Linked DNA regions of Homo sapiens: all the other regions are linked to region 1. Evidence: promoter capture Hi-C in human tissues and cell types (Jung and others, 2019). All regions are on one chromosome and are shown on one strand. The core of a region is centred on a gene start or on the middle of the fragment in contact, and the rest is flanking DNA. Distances in the headings are between cores, read along the strand shown. Region 1 holds the start of MED8 (mediator complex subunit 8). Region 2 has its middle 60 kb from the start of CFAP144. Region 3 overlaps LOC339539 (a long non-coding RNA gene). Region 4 overlaps SLC2A1 (solute carrier family 2 member 1).

The links. The method cuts DNA at HindIII sites, captures the fragments that hold promoters and counts their contacts. A contact is called where the count stands out against the background at its distance.
Region 2: a contact is called between a fragment that was not itself captured here and the fragment with the promoter of MED8 in region 1, in 1 of the 25 tissues and cell types used here (spleen).
Region 3: a fragment that was not itself captured here is called in contact with the fragment with the promoter of MED8 in region 1 in 1 of the 25 tissues and cell types used here (liver).
Region 4: a fragment that was not itself captured here is called in contact with the fragment with the promoter of MED8 in region 1 in 1 of the 25 tissues and cell types used here (dorsolateral prefrontal cortex).

The regions. Positions count from the first base shown.
Region 1 is chr1:43,386,934-43,392,740 of GRCh38, reverse strand. It overlaps MED8 (mediator complex subunit 8), which reads left to right and starts at 2,941. Exons shown (of 7, transcript NM_201542.5): 1 at 2,941-2,982; 2 at 4,313-4,431; 3 at 5,094-5,238; 4 at 5,743-5,807. The coding sequence starts at 2,977. SZT2 (SZT2 subunit of KICSTOR complex) reads right to left here and starts at 2,842. Exons shown (of 72, transcript NM_001365999.1): 1 at 2,746-2,842. The coding sequence starts at 2,772. RefSeq lists a silencer at 2,522-2,851 and an enhancer at 4,292-4,431. The HindIII fragment of the contact is 6,675 bases long and covers 1-5,631 here.
Region 2 is chr1:43,084,429-43,090,378 of GRCh38, reverse strand. No RefSeq gene overlaps it. Among named protein-coding and RNA genes, the nearest start is that of CFAP144, 60 kb to the left of the region's middle. The HindIII fragment of the contact is 6,717 bases long and covers 592-5,950 here.
Region 3 is chr1:42,876,848-42,882,314 of GRCh38, reverse strand. It overlaps LOC339539 (a long non-coding RNA gene), which reads right to left. Exons shown (of 4, transcript NR_104171.1): 3 at 1,882-1,961. Among named protein-coding and RNA genes, the nearest start is that of ZNF691, 33 kb to the right of the region's middle. The HindIII fragment of the contact is 7,806 bases long and covers 1-5,467 here.
Region 4 is chr1:42,935,448-42,941,207 of GRCh38, reverse strand. All of the region lies in intron 2 of SLC2A1 (solute carrier family 2 member 1), which reads left to right. Among named protein-coding and RNA genes, the nearest start is that of SLC2A1, 21 kb to the left of the region's middle. RefSeq lists enhancers at 1-101, 182-281, 1-401, 4,326-4,395. The HindIII fragment of the contact is 5,642 bases long and covers 1,122-5,760 here.

The DNA.
Region 1 (5,807 bases), core at 1,692-4,191:
ATCAGGGAGTTAAAAAATGCTTAACTTAGGCTGGGCACGGTGGCTCACGCCTGTAATCCCAGCACTTTGGGAAGCCGAGGCAGGCGGATCACGAGGACAGGAGATTGAGACTATCTGGCTAACACGGTGAAACCCCGTCTTTACTAAAAACACAAAAAGTTAGCAGGGCATGGTAGCAGGCGCCTGTAGTCCCAGCTACTTGGGAGGCTGAGGCAGGAGAATGGCGTGAACCCGGGAGGCGGAGGTTGCAGTGAGCCAAGATCGCACCACTGCACTCCAGCCTGGGCGACAGAGCGAGACTTCGTCTCAAAAAAAAAAAAAAAAAAGCTTAACTTTTGGCTGAGACTCCCAGGATTGTGTGTCTTGACTTGAAATTACTTTAGATCTGTACTGCTCTATATGGTAAAGACTACTATATGGGGCTACTGAGCACTTACAATGTTGCTAGACCAAGATGGGATGTGCTATCAGTGTAAAATACAACACTAGATTTTAAAGACTTGGTACCAAAAAAAATGTTAAATATCTCACGATGTTTTGTATTTTATTACATTTTGAAAATTTTGGGAGTTTTGGGTTAAATATATAATTACATTTTATTTCATTTGTTTCATTTTTTTTTTTTTTTTTTTTTTTTTTTTTTTTTTTTTTTTTTTTGAGACGGAGTCTCGCTCTGTCGCCCAGGCTGGACTGCAGTGGCACAATCTCAGCTCACTGCAAGCTCCGCCTCCCGGGTTCACGCCATTCTCCTGCCTCAGCCTCCCGAGTAGCTGGGACTACAGGCGCCCGCCACCACGCCCAGCTAATTTTTTGTATTTTTTTTAGTAGAGACAGGGTTTCACCGTTTTAGCCAGGATGGTCTCGATCTCCTGACCTCGTGATCCGCCCGCCTCGGCCTCCCAAAGTGCTGGGATTACAGGCGTGAGCCACCGCGCCCGGCCTTGTTTCATTTTTTTATGTGGCTATCAGAAAATTTAATATTACACATGTGGCTTGCTTTAGATTTCTACAGGACGGTGTTGTCCTAGACTATCTGCCTAAAAGGTATGTTGCATTTCCCCACAACATCCCTCCACCTCCTTTCACTTTAATCTATAATGAAACATCCTCTAAACTGTTTCATAGTTTTTCTTGTGTTAATATTTCTGATTGATCTTGATTGATATTTCTGATGCATGAGCTATTCTACCACCTCTGTGAACATGACTATTTTAAATAAGGCATAGTTTCCTACCACCATATTCAATGTTGGGTCTTACCACACCAAATCCCAGTGAACTGGAGATTTACCATTCTGTGGCTACTTTATTACTTATACCATGAACAATATGGTTAAGAACACAAGGACTGGAGCCTGGCCATCTGTTTTGGAGTCCTGACTCTAATACTTAATAGCTGTGTAACTTTGTTACTTTTTTTTTTTTTTGAGACGGAGTTTCACTCTTGTTGCCCAGGCTGAAGTGCAATGGCATGATCTCAGCTCATCGCAACCTCCACCTCCCGGGTTCAAGCGATTCTCCTGCCTCAGCCTCCCGAGTAGCTGAGATTACAGGCCTGCGCCACCATGCTTGGCTAATTTTGCATTTTCAGTACAGACAGGCTTTCTCCATGTTGGTCAGGCTGGTCTCGAACTCCTCACCTCAGGTGATCTGCCCACCTCGGCCTCCCAGTGTTGGGATTACAGGTGTAAGCCACTGCGCCCGGCTTACTTTGTTACTCTTAATATCTCTGTGCCTCAGTTCCTAAACTAAAAAAAGGAGATGATACAGTGTCCACTTCATAGGGCTGAGGATTAACTGATATTGGTAAAGAGCTTAGAATGGTACTGAGCATGCAGTATGTATGCAGTAATGAATACTATTTCTATCATTATACACATCTCTCACCCTTCCCACCTACTGATATGTTGGCACCTTTCCTGGTGGTGGTGTTTTATCCGAATCTGAGATTTTAAGCTCAGATCTTCTAACTCCAAACTGCTAGTTCCTGGATGAGTGGCATTTGAGTAAGGTACTAAATCTTTCTCATTTTTCAGTTTTCTCCTCTGTGAGAATGCCACCTTCCTTGCACAAGTCTGAATGACACAACATATATAAGGTTCCTTGCATGTTCCTTAGCATTTAACGAATATATCATATCACCTTTCTGGTTTATTACATGTGATTCTCACAACACACTATAAGACAGATATTTTATAAAGAAGGAAACAGGATCCGGGAAGACTCGCCTGAGGTTGCACAGATTAGCTACATGACAGCGCCAATATTGGAACGAGGTCTCAGTCCGACTCAAATGTTTTTTTCATGAAATTAAAGCTGCTTTTCTAAAAGCATGAGCCCTAGAACTAAATAAATTCATGCTGTTTATGGTATTCCAATGCCTAAAGAAATGCAAAAACCAGCAAAGTAAATCTACTGCCGTGTTGCCCATTGAAACTGCAACAGAAAGTCAAAATACAAGTTTTGTTAACACCGCTATAAGTCTTAGAGACGACGACGCGGGTGACATGTCAGTAAACAAAACAAAGCGAACAGTTACTCCTTTAGCTCCCCGAGGAAACTGCGGACCGCGTCCCATACACAGTCCGCAGGGGTACCATAGTCGGGCCTTCCGGGCTGGGCTGGTCCCTGCCGAGGCTACGCAGCCCGGCCACCCCCAGACCTAGAGGAGGCCAACGCCACGCCTGCCCGCCGGACCCTCCCCCTCGGATCTCGGGGCCCAGTGCTGCGCCCGCCCGCCCCTCACCTCCGGCTCCGGGCGCTCCGAGGCCATCACACAGCCCTCCCGCGCCGGCCCGGGCCAGTGAGGGTGTTCCACTCTTGACCCCTGACCTCGCTACCTCGGCACCCAGCAGGAACCGGAAGTTGGTGGGAGGGCCGAGTTCCAGTTTTCTGATTGGTGGACGAAGCCTTCTCGTAGGCGTTTGCTGACTGGAAAACCGGAAGTGAAATCGTGGCAGCCGCCTCGGCCGCCGCAATGCAGGTGAGAGTTGCGTTGGGCGTACTAGCGGCTGGCAAGCTTCGGGTACAGGGACCGAGAGTGGGCTGGCTAAGGAGAATGAAGAGTTGGGACTGAGAAGAGAGGGCAGAACCCACGGCTGATAAGGGAATGTGGGCTGGGGGGCGAGGCTAATTGGAGCGGGAGCGGCGGCGATTAGAGGTGGGGGTGGAGCTTGCCTGACAGGAGACAGTCGGGCTAAATCCGGAGGGAGGAGGCAGCACCTGTTTGCTTGGCGTGGGAAAGGATTAGGTTGTAATACGGGGAGGCTGAGATGCAGTCCAAGGAAGACGGCTCAAGAAGGTGGTGGGTTGGCTCAGGCCCTGTCCTAAGCTGCTGGATGGAGGCTGTTGGTTGCCGATATAGCAGGGGATCTAATTGGAAAGAAGCCCAAGCAGTGAGGGAATTGTGGGCCGCGATGGCTGAAAGCTAAGCAGCTTATAATCAGAGGCCATGGTGGAACCCGGGATCAAGTTTCTGTCAGGCAGGTTTGCAAGACAGTTTTGCATCCCTCTTCCCAGCCTGTGCCCTATAGTTGTTAAGGGTGAAGAAATGGAGTAAAACAGGAGACCACCGATGGGAAGGAAATGCTTTGCAGACCCCCAGCATTTTAATTTGTTTGTCCAGTGCTTAGAAGCATGTGTGGTTTTTGTTTTTCATTTGTCACTTAGTTTCTTGCAGCTGGTAGTCTCAATAAATGTTAATGGGTTGACTGAGCTTGTGAAAGAGGCACGGGAATATTGACACAGAGATAGATGATTGCATATTAATTCAGCAAGGAGAAGGTTGAAACAAAATGATGAGAGCAGATGGAAAGCTGGAGTCGTTGGTTGGGGGAGGGAAAGGGGAGAGCAGGACTGGTGTTCAGAGAAGTCTTCATGAGTAGGCAGATTTCCCAGAGACTGACAAGACAGCCAGGCTCACAGATGCTAGGATGGAGGAAGCTGGAGTGCATGTGCTACAGAGGTGCACATGAGAGAATGATCTCCTGGCATTAGGTCTGTCGAAAATGTCTCAGTGAGGGAGTGTAGGGTGTACCTAACACAGAGAAAAACCAGGCATAGATTAGGAGGTGATGGGGAAAAGGAATCAGTTGGTGGAAGGACTTGGGGTCAGGCAAACAGGTTGGAAGGTCTCAGGGTTGATGCTGTCTATAACCCAAATACCAAAGATAGAAAACAACCTGGCTATCCTATGCCAATGAGATCCTGTGTTACCTGACTGGTGTTGCACACCATCTCCTTGGCTTTCCAGCCCTCCTTTCTATGTGTCATACTCGTTTATCTGGGTGACCAACCTGTTCCTATTGGTGCAGAGAGAGGAGAAGCAGCTTGAGGCATCATTAGATGCACTGCTGAGTCAAGTGGCTGATCTGAAGAACTCTCTGGGGAGTTTCATTTGCAAGTTGGAGAACGAGTATGGCCGGCTGACCTGGTAAGAGTTACCAGGGCAAGCTAGGAAGGGCTTATGGGTGGGGGGGCCTAGCCTCCTGATGAATAGGACATTTCTAATGATGTAACCATTTATCAGTTTGCAAACATCTTTTGATTTGGAAAGAGCTGGGTTTCCTAACATTTAGCAAGTGGATTCCATGGCAAGGAAGTAGAGAAATGCTCAGTTTCCTAACCCAAGTTCTTTCTAGCTTTCAATTCTTACCCTTTGACTTCTCTGGTGAGGAGGTCCTCCCACTACAGCTCTATTCGTGCTGGATCTCTTGCCACAGATGTGGCTGAGTCTTTTAGAGCCAACCTACTCTGAAGTGTGGATCTTATTTCCAGGCTGGAAAGGAGGCTTTTACCCGGTTTCTGAAGTTTTAGTTATAACAGTGTAGCCCTGGTTCCTATTTTGCCACTGTTCCTCACCCCATTCAAACAATGAACTGGGTTTTTTCTACGTCTGTTTCATAAACTGAAACTATGTCCCTCTTTCATAGCCCTGTCATCCCTGTTAGTCTGTTCCCACTTAGGCTAGTCATAGGGCTATGAGACTTTTGGAGGTGAATCCAAGTGTTCCTAGCCTGAAGGAACTAGGACTATTTTACTAAGAACCACCCAGGGAAGGGGTACAACATTCTTACACCTTGTTACCACCACCAGGCCATCTGTCCTGGACAGCTTTGCCTTGCTTTCTGGACAGCTGAACACTCTGAACAAGGTCTTGAAGCATGAAAAAACACCGCTGTTCCGTAACCAGGTCATCATTCCTCTGGTGTTGTCTCCAGACCGAGATGAAGATCTCATGGTAAGAGGAGAAAAAGAATACAACTTGGGAAATTAAGGGGTTTTTTAGGCTTCTTTAGTATTTAGGGAAATTAAGTTATTAGCTGAGAGCCTAGAAATAATTTTGGAGGCCTTGCTTTTTGTTCTTCTGAAGGCGGGAGAGCCACTCCCAAATAGTGCTGTAATAACCTGAGGGGTATGTCACCAAGGCTGATACCTTTCTTCTCCAACATCTGTCTCAAGCCACAAAGTTTGCCCTTTTGTGACTTTGTCTATTCCAGTCTTTGAAGCGTGGCAGACAGTGATAGTTTAATTTGCCCCTAGGTCTGGTAGAGATAGGGATGTGAGAAGACACAAAAAATGAAGGATGGAGTAAAGGAGAGTGTGTCCTAGCAAACTAGATATTATGTCTCAGGTTGTATTTTCCTTGAAAATGCACTGTTTGCCTGTGGATGGGACTTTATGTCAGGCCAGATAGAATCTTCTTGGAGTACAGAGTAGGATCAATAAAATCTGTGTGTTACAGCGGCAGACTGAAGGACGGGTGCCTGTTTTCAGCCATGAGGTAGTCCCTGACCATCTGAGAACCAA
Region 2 (5,950 bases), core at 2,701-5,200, 300 kb after region 1:
ATTTATTTACTTCAAGAGTTAAGAGTGGCAGTTTGGGGATAGCACCAGGAGATATCAGCTGTGATGGCTTGGAGAAACAGTGTAAACCAGCAGTGTAAACAAGAGCAGGGCATGTATGAGTAGTTGAGAATGGTGAATAGGCATATGACTAGATAGAAGATAGTAGGGATGACAAGTTTTTTGGGGGCACAGCCTAAGTTGGTCTGGTGTCTGGAATGAGACTGGGGCCTAATAAAAAGGAGCGTCTATACAGGAGCTCAAATGGGCTGTAGCCTGTAGCATTCTGAGGACAGGCCTGAATTCTGAGAAGGGAAAGTGGTGAAAGTATTGTCTAGTCCTTTTTAAGTTGGTGGCTGAGCTTGGTGAGGTGTGTTTTTAAAAGACTATTAGTCTGTTCTACTTTTCCTGAAGACTGAGGACTGTAAGGGATATGAAGGTTCTACCGAATACCAAGAGCATGAGAAACTGCTTGGGTGATTTGACTAGTAAAGGCCGGTCTGCTATCGGACTGCATAGAGCTGGGAAGGCCAAACCGAGGAATTATGTCTGACAGAAGAAATGACTGCGGTGGCCTTCTCAGACCCTGTAGGAAAGGCCTCTACATATCCAGTGAAAGTGTCTACCTAGACTAGGAGGTATTTTAGTTTTCTGACTCAATTTGCCAGTCTTGGGCAGGACTCGAGCTTGATGTGTAGGAAAGGGAGGAGGCCTGAATAATCCCTGAGGGGTAGTAGAATAGCAAATGGAACACTGAGAAGTGATTTCCTTGAGGATAGATTTCCAGGATGGAAAGGAAATGTGAGGTTCTAAGAGGCGGGCTAGTCGCTTGTACTATAGCATAGCCTGCCTTTGCTGGTGTGTGGTGATTAGGCCTGGTGGAACTGCCATCAATAAATCAAGCATGATCAGGGTGAGGAACAGGAAAGAAGGAAATATGGGGAAATGGGGTGAATGTCAGGTGGATCAGAGAGATACAGTTATGGGGGTCAGGTGTGGTATCAGGAATAATGTGGGAGGCTGGATTGAAGTCCGGGCCAGGAACAATGGTAATTGTGGGAGACTTAACAAAGAGTGAGTACAGCTGAAGGAGCCGGGGAGCAGAAAGTATATGTGTCAGGTGTGAGGAAGAAAATAGATTTTGGAAATTATGAGAGCTGTAGAGAGTGAGTTGAGCATAGTTTGTGATTTTGAGGGCCTCTAAAAGTATTAGGGCAGCAGCAGCCGCTTCATGGAGACATGATGGCCAGCCTAAAACAGTAGGGTCAAGTTATTTGGACAAAAAGGCTACAGGGTGCGGTCCTGGCTCTTGTGTAAGAATTCTGACTGCACTAACCATGCCTAGGAAGGAAAGGAGTTGTTGTTTTGTAAGGAATTGAGGTTTGGGAGATTAATTGGACATGACCAGCAGGGAGAGCACAGGTGTTTTTATGAGAATTATGCCAAGATAGGTAACAGATGAGGATGAAATTTGGGCTTGACTGAAGTAATGGGGGCTGTCTGTGAAGCCTTGCGGCAGTATAGCCCAGGTAATTTGTTGAGCCTAATGGGTGTCAGGGTCAGTCTAAGTAAAAGTGAAGAGAGGCTGGGATGAAGGGTGCAAATGAATAGTAAAGAAAGCATGTTTGAGATCCAGAACAGAATAAGGGGTTGTAGAGGGAGGTATTGAGGATAGGAGAGTATATGGGTTTGGCACCACGGGGTGGATAGGCAAAACAATTTGGTTGATAAGGCACAGATCCTGAACAAACCTGTAAGCCTTGTCTGGTTTTAGGACAGGTAAAATGGGGGAATGGTAAGGAGAGTTTATAGGCTTTAAAAGGCCATGCTGTAACAGGCGAGTGATAACAGGCTTTAATCCTTTCAAAGCATGCTGTGGGATGGGATATTGGCATTGAGCGGGGTAAGAGCGATTAGGTTTTAATGGGATGGTTAAGGGGTGCATGATCGGTCGCTAAGGAGGGAGTAGAGGTGTCATACTTGTGGGTTAAGGTGGGGAGATACAAGGGGAGGATGTGAAAGAGGCTTTGAACTGAGGGAAAAGGCGGCAATGAGGTGTGGCTGTAGCCCAGGAATAGTCAGGGAAGCAGATAATTTAGTTAAAGTGTCTCGGTCTAATAAGGGAACTAGGCAGGTGGGGATAACTAAAAAGGAGTGCTTAAAAGAGTATTGTCTAAGTTGGCACCAGAGTTGGGGAGTTTTAAGAGGTTTAGAAGCCTGGCCGTCAATACTCACAACAGTTATGGAAGCAAGGGAAACAGGCCCTTGAAAAGAAGGTAATGTGGAGTGAGTAGCCTCCATATTGATTAAGAAGTGGGCGGATTTACTCTCTACTGTGAGAGTTACCTAGAGTGTCTGTGATGGTCCTGTGGGCTTCTGAGGCAATCGGGCAGTGTCAGTCTTCAGATGCTAAGCCAAGAAGATCTGGGAAGGAGTCAGTCAGAGAGCCTTGGGCCAGAGTTCCAGGGGCTCTGGGAGTGGCTGCCAGGTGAGTTGAACAGTCCGATTTCCAGTGGGGTCCTGCACAGATGGGACACGGCTTAGGAGGAATCCCAGGCTGTGGGCATTCCCTGGCCTAGTGGCCAGATTTCCGGCACTTGTAGCAAGCTCCTGGGAGAGGAGATTCTGGAGGAACCCTTGGCAGCTGCGGTTCAGGCGTTTGGAGTTCTTGTGTGCTAGAGATGTGGCTGGGGTTTGTCTCACTGTGGAGGCAAAGAATTGCAACTCAGAAATATGTTGCTACTTGGCTGCCTCTACTCTGTTATTGTACACCTTGAAGGTGAGGTTAATTAAGTCCTGTTGTGGGGTTTGAGGGCCGGAATTTAATTTTTGGAGTTTTATTTAATGTCGGGGGCAGATTGGGTAATAAAATGTATATTGAGAATAAGACAGCCTTTTGACTTTTTAGGGTCTAGGGCTGTAAAGCGTCTCAGGGTTGCTGCCGAATGAGCCACGAACTGGGCTGGGTTTTTCATATTTGATGAAAGAGCCTAAATGCTCACTGATTTGGGAGAGGTCTGATAAAGAAAAAGGAGCATTAACCTTGACTATGCCTTTAGCTTCAGCCACCTTTTTAAGAGGAAATTGCTGGGCAGGTGGGGGAAGGCTAGTCGCAGAACGAAACTGTAAGCTGGACCAGGTGTGAGGAGGGGAGGTGATAAAAGGATTATAGGGTGGGGAGCAGAGGCTGAGGAAGAATTGGGACCTGGCTCGGCCTGGCAAGGAGGGGAGAGGTCAGATGGGTCTGTAGAAAAGGAAGATTAGAAAGACTTAGCGACGCTTGGGGTTGGGACTGAGGGGACAGGCGGGAGGGAAAGAAGGAGGATCTGGGACGAGTCACATTGGGAACAGAGACTAGGGAGGGAACAATGTATAAAAGAATGCCTGGACATCAGGCACCTCAGACCGTTTGCCTATTTTATGACAAGAATTATTTAGATCTTGTAGGATGGAAAAAATTGAAAGTGCCATTTTCTGGCTATTTGGAACCGCTGTCGAGTTTGTATTGGGGTCAAGTGGCATTGTAGAAGAAAATAAGGCATTTAGGTTTTAGGTCAGGCGAGAGTTGAAGAGGTTTTATGTTCTTAAGAACACAGGCTAAGGGAGAAGAAGGAGGAATGGAGGGTGGAAGGTTGCCTATAGGCAAGTTTAAAGAAAAGGGAGAGTAGAGACACGGAGGGAAGTGGTTCAGGGGTTCTTACCCTCCAGAAAAGGGGGAAAGGGGTCGGGGCGCAGAAATAAGGGGTTGGGGTGCAGAGATAAGAGGTCGGGGCACGGAAATAAAGGATCAGGGTGCAGAGATAAGAGGTTGGGGTGTGGAAATAAGGGATTGGGGTGCAGAGATACGAGGTTGGGGTACTTGCCCCTCCCTTAGAAAAGTGGGACTTGCCACTAAGGGTAAAGGAGAAGGGGTTGGGGGTTTCTTGCCTCCCAGAAAGGCCGAGAAGGGGTAGAGACACAGAAGGGGTTGGGGTACTTGCCCCTCCCCCAGAAAAGTGGGACTTGCCGCTAAGGGTGAAGGACCAAGGCAGGCATCCCTGCGTGGTCTGACACCTCTGAAGCATGGATGAATAATCAGAGAGGTGTCCCTGCAATGATTAAACACCAGGGGAAGGCTGCCTTCCCAGTCCGCGACCGGCGCTGGAGTTTTGGGTCCACGGATAAAACGTGTCTCCTTTGTCTCTACCAGAAAATGAAAGGAATTGAAATTAAAAGAAGGGAGAGATTGAAGTGTGGCGCCAAGATTGAAAGGAGAAAGAGGTTGAGGGATAGTGAGGGAGGTTGGAGAAGAGAGTAAAAAGAGGCCACTTACCGGATTTGAAATTGGTGAGATGTTTCTTGGGCTGGTTGGTCTGAGGACCTGAGGTTGTAGGTGGATCTTTCTCACAGAGCAAAGAACAGGAGGACAGGGGATTGATCTCCTAAGGGAGGTCCCCCGATCCGAGTCACGGCACCAAATTTCATGCGCGTCTGTGTGAAGAGACCACCAAAGAGGCTTTGTGTGAGCAACATGGCTGTTTATTTCACCTGGGTGCAGGCAGGCTGAGTCTGAAAAGAGAGTCAGTGAAGGGAGATGGGGTGGGGTCGTTTTATAGGATTTAGGTAGGTAAAGGAAAAAGGGGAGTTGTTTTCTGGCGGGCAGGAGTGGGGGTCACAAGGTACTCAGTGGGGGAGCTTTTGAGCCAGGATGAGCCAGGAGAAGGAATTTCACAAGACAATGTCATCAGTTAAGGCAGGGCCGGGCATTTTCACTTCTTTCGTGATTCTTCAGTTACTTCAGGCCACCTGGGCGTATACGTGCAAGTCACAGGGGATGCGATGGCTTGGCTTGGGCTCAGAGGCCTGACAGTTCAAATCCTTTAAACCTGCCATAAATTCTTTTTTCAGTAAATTTATTTAGCTTAGGAAAGAAACACTTGCAAAAATTAGTTTGAATTATTTGTATATTTGCAGCATGATAGGAAGGTCTTTTTTGTTTGTTTGGCCTTCTCTCCTAAGCTGAAATGGAACCATATACTCACGGGGAAAAAAAAGGAATTTAATATTGCCAGGAATATTTGCTGTTTGTCCCAGCTGAAACCTGATTATAAGATATTTTTAAAGGACTTTTAAAGAGCTCTATCAACATAAGTCAGCTTAATTGGAAGCTTGTAATTTTGGTGGGGGTGGGGAGAGGGGGGAGCTTTCTATTGTCTCTATTGGATCCTGCTTCTCCCATGAAAACTTCTCAGTCAACTAAGCCCCTCTTCTTGGACCCCTGCTAACTGTATGCTGTGCCCCATCTGTCTACTTTCTTTCTCGTGGGCATGATTTTTGGCTATTTAAAAATTGAGCAAATGAAATATCTTAAAGGTCTTTTCTACTAATATTTGTAAAAAGCATTATTTGAATTGGCTTAGAAATAAATGAGCAATACCTAAAACTGCTAGAAATATGGGAACTAACCCAACATGCTTGTCAAGTTCACGTGACGTAGATGAGTCTTTGGCAAATAAGACAAGCTTAATATCATTTGGTTTAATGAAAACAGCTGTGTCTTCTGGGTTATCAATGAAATACCCATGTATTTTACTTTAGGGTTCCTGCTTCAGCAATGACTGCCTGATATGCTCATGATGTATAAATGGTTAATGGGGAAATAACCTAAAAAGATGGCTAACTTTGTCTCTAATGTCTCATTTAATTTTCATGAGTATTCTAGGCATAATTGTTAAAAAAAAAGTGATCTAAATAGCTATAACTTGGATAAAGTTTATAAATGAACTTTTTAACAACAATTATGTTTTATAATATGTCTGCTTAAAAACTGTTTCCTAAGGCTGGGCGCAGTGGTTCATGCCTGCAATCGCAGCACTTTGGGAGGCCGAGGAGGGCGGATCACGAGGTCAGGAGATCGAGACCATCCTGGCTAACACAGTGAAACCCCGTCTCTACTAAAAATACAAAAAAAAAA
Region 3 (5,467 bases), core at 1,538-4,037, 510 kb after region 1:
GAACTGCTGTCCTCAGGTTATCTGCCCATCTCGGCCTCCCAAAGTGCTGGGATTACAGGCGTGAGCCACTGTGCCCGGCCCTTTTCACTTTTTTTATGTGAAATGTTTAATGTTAATGTAGTCAAATTCATTGATATTCTTTCTTTTAGTTTGTCCATTTTTGACCAAATTAAGAAATATTTTCCTATCCAGTAGTCAAAAAGATAATCTTCTATATTGTCTTGTATAACAATTTTTCTGTTTATATATAGGTCTCAAATACTCTAGGAATTGACTTTTGTGTATGTTGTAAGATAGGGATCCATTTTATTTTTCCCCTTATAATCAATCATCCACATACAATTTACTTTAGAAGGTCTGTGAATTGTCTATTTTAAAATTTTTAATTTTGAAATAATTTTAGATTTAGAGGTAGTTGCAAAGATAGTAGAGAGTCCCTGTATACCCTTCAATCAGTTTCCCCCAATGGTTGTATCTGACATAATTAAGGTACACTATCAAAACCAGGAATAACACATGGATACAATGTATGTGTATAGTTCTATATCATTTTATCACATGTGTATATTTGTGTAACCACCACAACAATCAAGATACAGAACAATTATATTATTATAAAGATCTCCCTGTGCTACTATTTATATTCACACATACCCAATTGTCTTTCTATTCTGTTTAAAGTATCTTTCAAAGACCAGAAATTTTGAATTGAAAAAGAAAACAACCCAATAAAAAATGGAAAAAAATATGTAAACAGACACTTCACCAAATAAGATATATGGATGCAAATAAGCACATAAAAATATTTTCAACATCATTGGCCACTAGGGAAACAAACATGAAAATCACAACGGTATACTTTGGAAAACAGTTTGGCAGTTTTTTAAAAAGGTAAGCATATACCTACCACTTGAGCCAGCCATTTCTAGTTATTTATTTACCCAAGAGAAATGAAAGCATATTGATGGCAGCTGCAGCCCATCTAGAGTGGCCACTGCAAAGTTGCTGGCTTTGCAATGGAGGAGACCCAGCTGGAACTGCATGCACCAAAGAGCTGGGAGCTGGAAACAGGTAGGAGCCCCACCTTTTTCCAAGTTGGCAGGGTGGGAGACCTGCTATCCCAGGCACAGCTGCAGCCACCCAGCTGTGGTTATGGATCCAGGCATCCTTGCACTCTCGGGGGCCCAGGAAGCCCCCCTGCCCCTGCAGGCTTGGAAGTACCTGCTCCCCTTGCCTGGCCTATCCCTGTATCCAGTGCATGCTCTGATTTTGGAACAAAGTTGAGGCCAAGCCTGGGCACTGTCACAACCCAGCAGGGTGTGGGAGTGCACTCAGGGTGGCGTTGACACACCAGCCCCCTGCCGCCTCGGCCACCTCCAGACTTTGAGATTGAGGGGGTTCTGAGGGCATCTAGGCATGGGCCTGCAGGCACCCTTCAGCACAAACAGCCTGGGCACTGTGGATGACATGATTGATGGTGGCAGGAGGCTGACAGGATTCTGGGCAGGTCCCCGGTGAAGCCCCATCTTCATGCCAGAAACGTCCTGGAGCATGGGAACTCGGCTGTCAGTTCTGGATGGAGTCTGCAGCCTGGAATGAGAACTTATGGTGCTTTTTCTGGGCCCACGTGTGGCCACCCATGGATCAATAAGCACACACTTCCTCCCTTCTGAAGCCCATAAAAAACCCAGACTCAGCCAGACTCAGAGTCACACAGATGTTGGGACAACCTGCCTGCAGATAGGAGCTACCCACTCTGGGTCTCCTCTCTTCTGAGGGCTGCACTTGACAGGATGAACTGCCTGTGGAAAGGAGCTACCTACATTGGGTCTCCTGAGAGCTGTACTGTTGGTCAATAAAGCACCTTTTCGCCTTGCTTACCTTCCAGTTGTCTGCATACCTCATTCTTCCTGGATGCAGGACAAGAACTCGGGACCCGCCAAATGGTAGGGCTGAAAGAGCTGTAACACAAACAGGGCTGAAACACATCCCACCCCCTCCCACTGGCTTGCCACATTGCAAGTGATGAGAAGGAGAGAAGAGCTGCAGTCCTTCAGGGAGTCCAAACCTAAGGGCTCTCTGAGCCAGGGCTGTGACACCCTCTTTGGGGCTCTGTGGTTCCTGGTATCTCCAAGCTTCCTGGAGGCACCACATTCCCTGGAGCCCACAGTGGAAGCCACATGCACTATGCCTGGTCCAGCCACAGCCTCACATGGAGCCAGCACCTGGGCCAGCGCCTGGAGCTGCCCACCCACAGCAGCTGGTGTGCCTGGCTGTGTGCAGTGGCTGGACCCCATGCACCTCTCTCATGCACCTCTCATCACTCTGCACCTGGCTCACCCTTGGCAGGCATGGGATCCGGGCCAGTAGAACAAGCTGAGCACAGCCTGTGAGGTTGAGTGGGCAGAATGAGCCTAGTAGACCCAAGCACAACTCGGGCAAAGGTGCCACTGGCCACAGAGGCTTCCAGCTGGAAAAGTGACACCCTAAGGATCCTGTGACAATTTGGCTATACAAAGAATTCTACAGAAATGTTCATAGCAGCTTTATTTGTAATAACCCCAAACTGGACACACTCAAAATGTCCATCAAGAGGTGAATGGATAAACATATAAATGTATGGCTATCCAATGAAATAAAATTCAACAATAAAAATGGATAAATATTTATATACACTACATAATGCATGAATCTCAAAATAATTATGCTGAGTGAAAGAAAGCAGACCAACCAAAACAAGAATACATACTGCATGATCCCATTTATACAAAATTCTAGAAAATGTAAGCTAATCTACGGTGACAAAAGCAGATTCAACATTCACCTGAAAGCCAATGGACAGAGAAGAGGGATGAGGGAAAGGGATCACAAAGGGCATGAAGAAACTTTTAGGTGTGATAGATGTGTTCATTATCTTGATGTGGTGATGGCTTTATAGGTGCAAACCTATGTCAAAACTTATCAAATTGTGTCAGCTGTGCCTCAATAAAGCTGTCAAAAAAGAAGAACCCATAAAAGATTTCTTTCTTTCTTTTTTTTTTTTTTTGAGATGGAATTTCACTCTTTCACCCAGGCTGGAGTGCAGTGGTGTGATCTTGGCTCACTGCAAGCTCTGCCTCCCGGATTCACGCCATTCTCCTGCCTCAGCCTCCCGAGTAGCTGGGACTACAGGTGCCCGCAACCATGCCCAGCTAATTTTTTGTATTTTTAGTAGAGATGGGGTTTCACCATGTTAGCTAGGATAGTCTCGATCTCCTGACCTCGTGATCCACCCGCCTCGGCCTCCCAAAGTGCTGGGATTACAGGCGTGAGCCACCACACCCAGCCAAAGATTTATTTCTTGCTCATGACACATGTCCATCATGAATTGGCTAGGAGTATTGTCCTCGTCCTCAGTCTGGGACCTGGGCTGATGGAGAAGGTACTACCTAGAACAATCCTGGTTGCCATAGCAGTGGAAAAAAGAGCACTGTGGCAAAATACACACTGATTCTTAGAGCTTCCACTCAAAGAAACAAGGCTACACATAACTTTTGAGGTGCTTATAACTTTGGAAATATATATTACTAGTGAATTGTAACTCCTCATTATGTGGCCATTTGTATCCCTAATAATGCTTTTTTCTTTAAAGTCTATATTTTCTACACACTAAATTTCTTTTAATTGGTAATTCCTTGGGATAATTTTTTAAATTCTTGTACTTTCAACCTTTCTGTGTGCTTACATTTTAGGTTTATTTCTTATAAATAACATATAACAGGATTTGAGGGTTTCTTTTTTTCTTTCTTTCCTCCTTTTTTTCTTTAGCAACAGGGTCTCACTCTGTTGCCCAGGCTGAAGTGCAGTGGCATGATTATAGCATACTGCAGCCTCGAACTCCTGTAAAAAGATCCTCCTGCCTCATCTTCCTGAGTAGCTCGGATTACAGGGATGTTGCCCAGGTTGGCCTGGAACTCCTGGCCTCAATAAATCCTCCTGCCCCAGTCTCCCAAAGTGCTGGGATTACAGGAGTAAGCCACAGGGGTTTTCTTAACTAATCTGAAAAATTTTTGTGTTTTAACTGGTTAGTTCATTCCATTTCACATTTATTTAGACAAATATTTCTATTTGTCCTATTTTTCTTTGGGATTGATTTGTTTTCATTAATCCAGGTTTTCCCCTTTACTAATTGGAATTCAATTTATTGCTTTAGTGCCTTCCTTACCATTTTCACAGGAATGCTTAATCTCAAAAATTAATATTTTTCCCTTTACCTGAATAATTACAGAATTTTAAATGCCTTACTGCAAACATCTTCTTCTAATTATTTCAATATATAAACCAGATCAATACCATTCAACACAAGCCCACAAAAGCAAGCAAAGTGTTTTGGTTTTCTTTTTCTCCTAGATCACTTTTTCACTAAGGTGTAGGTAATTGAGGGTATCATCTTTGTCCAGAGATCTCAGTTACAAATCTTCACCCTGCATAAATCCAAGTCCCCATTTTCTTGTCATTGTCTTGTCATTAGACTCACAGCCCTGACTTACAAGACCAGTAAACATGCTCAGAACATCCAAAGTGTCAGCACCCACTTATCACTTGGTTTTCAGCTTTCTGTTTGTTTTTTACCTCTAGGAATTTTCCTTATTTTCTTGAAAGCTGGTAATGACAGACCCTGCTGCTCCACTCCTGCCAGTGCCCCATCCCAGCTAATGTGCGTGCACCCCACTGTGCCTCTGCAGCTGCTAGCATGTGCAAGTGAGCACAGATCCTGCTGCCACTGCCCCTGTGAAGTACTTTGGCTGGCACTCTCCACTGGAATGTTGTGTGGCCAGCAGTCTGGGAATACCTCAGCCTCTCCAGTGTAACAAGTTCCTAACCTTGGGGGACCAGACAACAAAGCTGGGGGCTCAGTACCACGCCCCCAGAGTTAGAGTACAAAGCCCAGGAGTGTTGAGCTCTGCCTTGGCCTCTTGAAATCTTCTAGAAACAAAGCCCGTCAACTGAACCCACATTATGCCATTATCAAACCCCCAAGGGCATCAAAGAATATAAAAGCAAAACACCCCATCAAAAGGACAGCACATTCAAATATTAAAGGAGCATCAGCCCACATAGATGAGAAAGAACCAGCACAAAAACCCTAGTAAGAGTGTCTTCTTACCTCCAAATGACCACACTAGTTCCTCAGCAATGGTTCTTAAGCAGGCTGAAATGGGTGAAATGACAAACATAGAATTTAGAATATAAATAGGAACAAAGATCATCGGGATTCAAGAGAAAGTTGAACCCAATCCAAAGAATCTAAGGAACACAATAAAATGATACAGGAGCTGAAAAATAAAGTGGGCATTTAAAGAAAAAAGCACACTTAATCTGATAGAGCTGAAAAACGCTACAAAAATTTCATAATACAATTGCAAGTATTAACAGCAAAATCGACCAAGCAGAGGAAAGAATCTCAGAGCCTGAAGATTGGTTCTCT
Region 4 (5,760 bases), core at 2,693-5,192, 450 kb after region 1:
GGCAGACGTGATCAGACTTGCATTGTAGGGAAATGACTCAGGCGTCTGGTATGGAGGGGCGGACTTAAGAATGTGAGACTAGAGACGGGAAACCATCAAGAAAGTTGCCGTTGGACTAGTGACATAAAAGCAAACCCTCAGAGGAAGAATGGACAGGATTTGGTCATCAATTCCGTGCGAGGGCAACAGAGAAGGGTTTAAAAATGGTTTCTAGGTTTCTGGCATGGGTGATGTGTGGTTTGAAGAAGGAGCAGGTGTGCCAGGAGCTGAGAGGTGGCCGTGGGATGTGCAGGAATGGAGGCGTGGGGTGACACAGCTGGAGATGTGCAGGAGGCACCTGTATGTATGGGTCTGTTTCTTAGACCCAGGCTGGAGAAAAGTTGAGAATTAGTCACTGGTATCCACACAGTGGAGAAAGATCTTCTAGGGAGACTGTGGAATAAAAAGAGAAATGAAGATTAAGGCCGGGCATGTGGCTCACGCTGTAATCCCAGCACTTTGGGAGGCTGAGGTGGGTGGATCACTTGAGCCCAGGAGTTCAAGACCAGCCTGAGCAACACATCAAGACCTCATCTCAATTTTATAATTAAATAAATAAAAATTAAAAGTAAAAGATCAAGGCCCCAGAGAACAACCCATTGCTAGAAAAAGACCCTAAGTAGAAGAACAAGAGCTGGTATCTCTAAAACCAGGAGAGGATACCCTCCCAAGACAGAGGGATAATGTAAGCCATCGAAGGGCCAGGGTATTTGTCTGGTTTGTCCACGGCCGTGTCCTTAGTGCCTAGAACGGTGCCTGTCATAGTAATAGACACTGGTGGATAGTGAGTGGAGGAAGGCCATCGGGTACCCCAGGGGTTGAACTGGGCAAGCCTCTCCACATTGCTGAATGCAGAAGAGGCGATGGTGGCCTTGTGGCCACTCGGGCTGACTGGGTGGCACAGCGTGGATAGAAGCCTCACTACGATTGGGTGAAGAGTGAGAGGCAGATGAGAAAGGGTGGAGACGGCTCTTCCAAAAGAGTTGGTGGGAGAGGGAGAAAAGAGGAGGTTTGGAATGATGGTATGGCTAGGAATTTATTTATTTATTTTAATGAAGGTTATTTTTAAACATGTTGGAAGGAATCAGCAGGAGAGGGTGAAGATAAGGAAGTGAGGGCGGAGGTCTTCCAGGAGGGAGGGTGGTGTCGGAGCAGAAGGGAGGGGCTGCCTTTGGCCAGGAGGGACTGAGATACCTTTTTTTTTTTTTTTTTTTTTGAGACGGAGTCTTGCTCTGCTGCCCAGGCCAGAGTACAGTGGCATGATCTTGGCTCACTGCAACCTCCGCTTCCTGGGTTCAAGTGGTTCTCGTGCCTCAGCTTTCCAAGTAGCTGGGCTACTGGTACAGGTGTGTACCACCACGCCCAGCTAATTTTTGTGTTTTTAGTAGAGATGGGGTTTCACCAGGTTGGTGAGGCTGGTCTCAAACTCCTGACCTCAGGCGATCCACCTGCCTTGGCCTCCCAAAGTGCTGGGATTACAGGTATGAGCCACCATGCCCAGCCAGGGACTGAGAGACTTCTGAAGATGTAGACAAATCTGAGATGAACTTCTGTGATCCCCGGGGCCTCCCATCTAATCAGAAATAGGCAAGAGGTTATAACTGTCATGGAATATGGGCAGAACCTCTGACCAGGGCATCACGGGGCTGGTCAGCAGCACAGAGGGCCCAGATGAGCCTGTAAACTGCATTCATAGGACCATGTATGGTCACCTGTCCAAAGGTCACTTCAGGAACCAGCCCCAGCAGACCGAAGCTGGAGATGTGAGTGGCCAGAACTGAGAACGCTGAAATCTAGCGGTGTTTCTTGGGCAAGCACCCAGACACTTGGTCTGTTGACTTTTGTACTTTACAAACACTTCTCACAAGGCTGGCTGTAGTTTTTCCAACCAGGAGCCAGATTAGAAGTGATACATGTAACATGTGAAGAGAGGACAGAAGGACCCAAGAAGAAGAAATGAAAGTGAGGCTCAGAGCCCATGTGTAGTAACAGGGCAGAGAGACTCCTGTGCCCGCGTAGGCTGAAGGCCTGCCCTAGGGCGACACAGAGATTCCATCTGGCCAACCCTTTCATTCAGCCAGGACTTCCTGAGCATCCACGCTGTGCCAGATGCGGTCCTAGACAGTAAGGAGAGAGAAGTATAGCTGTGAACACAGCAGGCACATGCTGGCCCTCAGGGAGCTGCCTGAGACACAGTCTGAGCCAGGCCCTGTCTCCACAGCAGTGGGAGAGACCCCTTGGAGAAAGCCAGAGTGTCACTAACAGAGGGCTTCAAGGTGCTGTGAGAGCAAACGGGGCAACTAATGCTGGGGCTGGGGTGACAGGGGAGATTAAAAAAAGGGCTTCACGAAGGACTTGGCAGCCATGCTCGACCTTGAAGGGTTAGTTGACCTCATAGGGCAGGAGGGGCAGGTGTCTGGGCAGTGAGAGGGGCTTCTGCAGAGGTGCAGGGGTGTGAAATGTTCTGCTGATGCGGAATTGCTAACTGCCTGCAGTGGGCACACTGACTTCCCTTGTCTGTTTAGAAGAACCTCTCTTAGGAAACAGCATTGGGTTGGCCACAGTTTGCCTACTCTTGAGAAGAGACTTTGCCCCACAAGTGGTGAGGATGCCAGAAGCTTGTTCTCTTCCATAAAACAGGCCCCAAAGGGCTTCCTCCTGGAAGTGGTTAATTAATCATACTACCTTATATGTTTACAAAGCACCACCCCATAAATTACCACCTCACAGCAACTCTACAAGGCAGGCGGGGCTGACATCTTCCCCTCTTCTAAATGAGGGAACTGAAGCCAGATGAGGTATCTGGAGAGTGAGAGGCTGAGCTAGAGGTGGGCTCCAGGCCTTGTGCCTCCCCAGCTCTGCACACTGCCCCTGCCCTGCTGTGAGTGTGACAGGACATTCCTGCCATGCATCCCCTCCTGGAGGAGGAGGACAGAGCAGAAGAGGTGAGCCCAGCCACAGAGGGAGCAGCTAAATGAACCAGGGAATCCTGACCATCATACTGGGCTCATCCGAGCACTGCCTTTCCCCTCCCCAAATGACTGAGCTGCCAGTAGAGATGACTGACGGCCACTGAGAAACCATGAAGTCCTGGCCCAAGGGACAGTGTCAGGCATGTCTGAGAATAAGGCATCCTCAGAATCCAGAGTTTGGGCCAGAAAGGCCTCAGTTGTTTGACAAACAACACTCCTTGTTTGACAAAGGAGGAACCTGGTCTGCAGAGGAGGTGAGGTCTGCCCAGGATGACCCAGCTTGGTGAGTGAAAGAGCTGGAGGCAACACCCGCCTCCCAACCCAAGCCCTGTGTCCCGTCAGGCTGAACTGGGCTTCGTGCTCTAGGCAGCCTCTCCTTCTCTCTCCTATATCCAAAGAGTTCTAGTCCTCTCTCCCCTTCACCCGTCACCACTACCATAAACCCTTACTGCTTACTTATAGCTTGCCCAGGCATTGTTATACATACTCTAGAAATAGTAATTCAGTTGTTCTTCAAAATAACCCCATTAGGCAGACACCATAATTTTCCCTGCTCTATAAGAAACTGGGGCACAGGAATGTTAAGCAATTAAAGCAAGGACACACAGCTAGTAAGTGGCAAGGCTGCAATGTAACTCCGGGGAGTCTGGCCCTAGTCTGTGCCCTTGACCATTGTGGAAGATGGACACAGTCCCAGATGGGCACCTAAACACCCTTTCACTCACCTACAACTGCCACCTAGCTGGCAGTGTGTGGTCTCACTTTGGAGCTGAGTCAAGCTCAGTCATGTACCAACATCTCAGGTTTCCCACACACAGTTGCACAATCTCTTACACCATCACACCCTGTCATATCACATCACCCCTCAAGCCCTTCAGTTAGATTCATGGCTTGTTGGTCATTTAGTGTCAACTCTGCACCTCCACCACCGTGCTGGGCACCAGCAACATGGATGCATCAGACAGACCATCTCCGTGCTGAGGTTTACTGTACAGGGAGCACACGGTACCTTACAGTTAGTCTTCTAAAGGCGATGATGGAAATGCGAGCAAGCACAGTGGGAGCAGGGAAGGAAGAGGGAGAGGGTGCTTCGCCCTTAGAGCAGGGTTTCTCAGCTTGGCACTGTGATGTTTCTGCTGGTGTTGTAGAGGCCTGTCCCATGCATTGGAGGATGTTTATCAGCATCCTTGGCTTCTGCCCTCTAGATACCAGTAGCCAGTGTGGCAACCAAAAATGTCTCTGGGCATTGGCAGATGTCCTATGGGGTACCAAAGCCGTCTCTGTTTGAGAACCAGTTGCAGTGGAGTGGGAGGGGTGGTTCTCGGGAGGAAGGCTTTCCAGAGGAGTATCTGTGCATGTTCTGAAAGGTGATTAGGCCCAAGCAAAGGTGTGAGGTGTCTAGGTCGTATGAGGGAGTCACTGCGTGTGCCTTGTGAGTCATAGTTGGGGTAGAGGAGACACTTTATTGCAAGAGCTGAGAAGGGCTTCGGGTGTGGCCACGGCAGTGGGATGATTCCTCTGTCTACCGGGAGGCCTGGCCTGGCCTGGCCTTGGTTTGGAGGCTAGCCATGTCAGGGCTGTTCCAGGGAAGCAGCCTGGGTGGTCCAGCCCTCTGCAGGGGGGTTGGGGCCCAGCTCTAGCCCCAACCTGGGCCTCTTCCCCCAGGCCCCAAAGTGAGGCCCCAGGGGACCCAGTGGGCAGGGTTATCTGTCCAGCCCCACCTGGAACATCTGGCTCCAATCTCCCAGCTCACCCTGGGGTGTGGCTGAGAGTTGCTGTGGAGATGAAGGCCCTGGGCTGAGAGCTTGTGGGAAGGGCAGTGTGGGGCCAGCCCCAACTGGAAGACAGGGGCAGGCAAGGAACAGGGGTGAAGGCCAGGCTGAGAGGCTAAGCCGGAGAAGCTGGCCCTTTCCTCCTTGTAACTGGCGCTGAAAGCTTGGCTGGCAGTTTAGCCCCTTCTTCCCCACAATAGCATCCCGTAGAGCACAGGGAGAGTTGAGACCGAGCCTAAACCTGGCCCAGGGATCCCTGCTGGGGATGACCTAACTGACCTAGTCCTCCTGGGGTAAAGGAATGTCTAGAGGGAAGGATGGTGAGACCAGCCAGAGGTTCCAAAACGCATACCCCTCCTGGCAGTGGTCTAGAATCCTAGATCAAGGGTTGGCAGGAGGGCCACATCCAGCCAGCAGCCTGTTTTTGTGCAACCCATGAGCTAACAATGGTTTTTACATTTTTACAAGGTTGAGAAAAAAAGAACAATGAGTGACAGAGGCCATATGTGGCTCACAGACCCTACCTAATGGATTCTAGCTAGCCTTTTACATAAAATGTTTACCCCAGTCCGGCTCTGGAGCACTTTGACTTGCATGCTCCCTACTTACAGGGAACTCACCACCTGTAAGGTGGGCAGCCTCATACCCTGAAGTCTATAAAGCTCTTCCTTCCCCTGAGCTGGAGTCTGGCCCTGGCACCTCTGCCCTCTGGGGCTACAGAGTGCTGGGTTCCTCTGCCAGGAGCAGCCGAGCAGGGTCTGGAGACTAGCTTTATTCCCTGAGGCAGGCCCGTAGTTCCTTCAGGTTCCTCCTTACTCTTACATTCTTAGGGTAATGATTTCTGGCAATTTCAAAATGGAAAACCTTGTCCCTAAGGCTCCTCCGAAAGTGGTGACTTCTTTTCTTGAGAGAGCAACAGTGACAGCAGTAACAGCTTACCCATGTGCCAGGCAGTGTTCGCCGCCTCATGCCCCTCT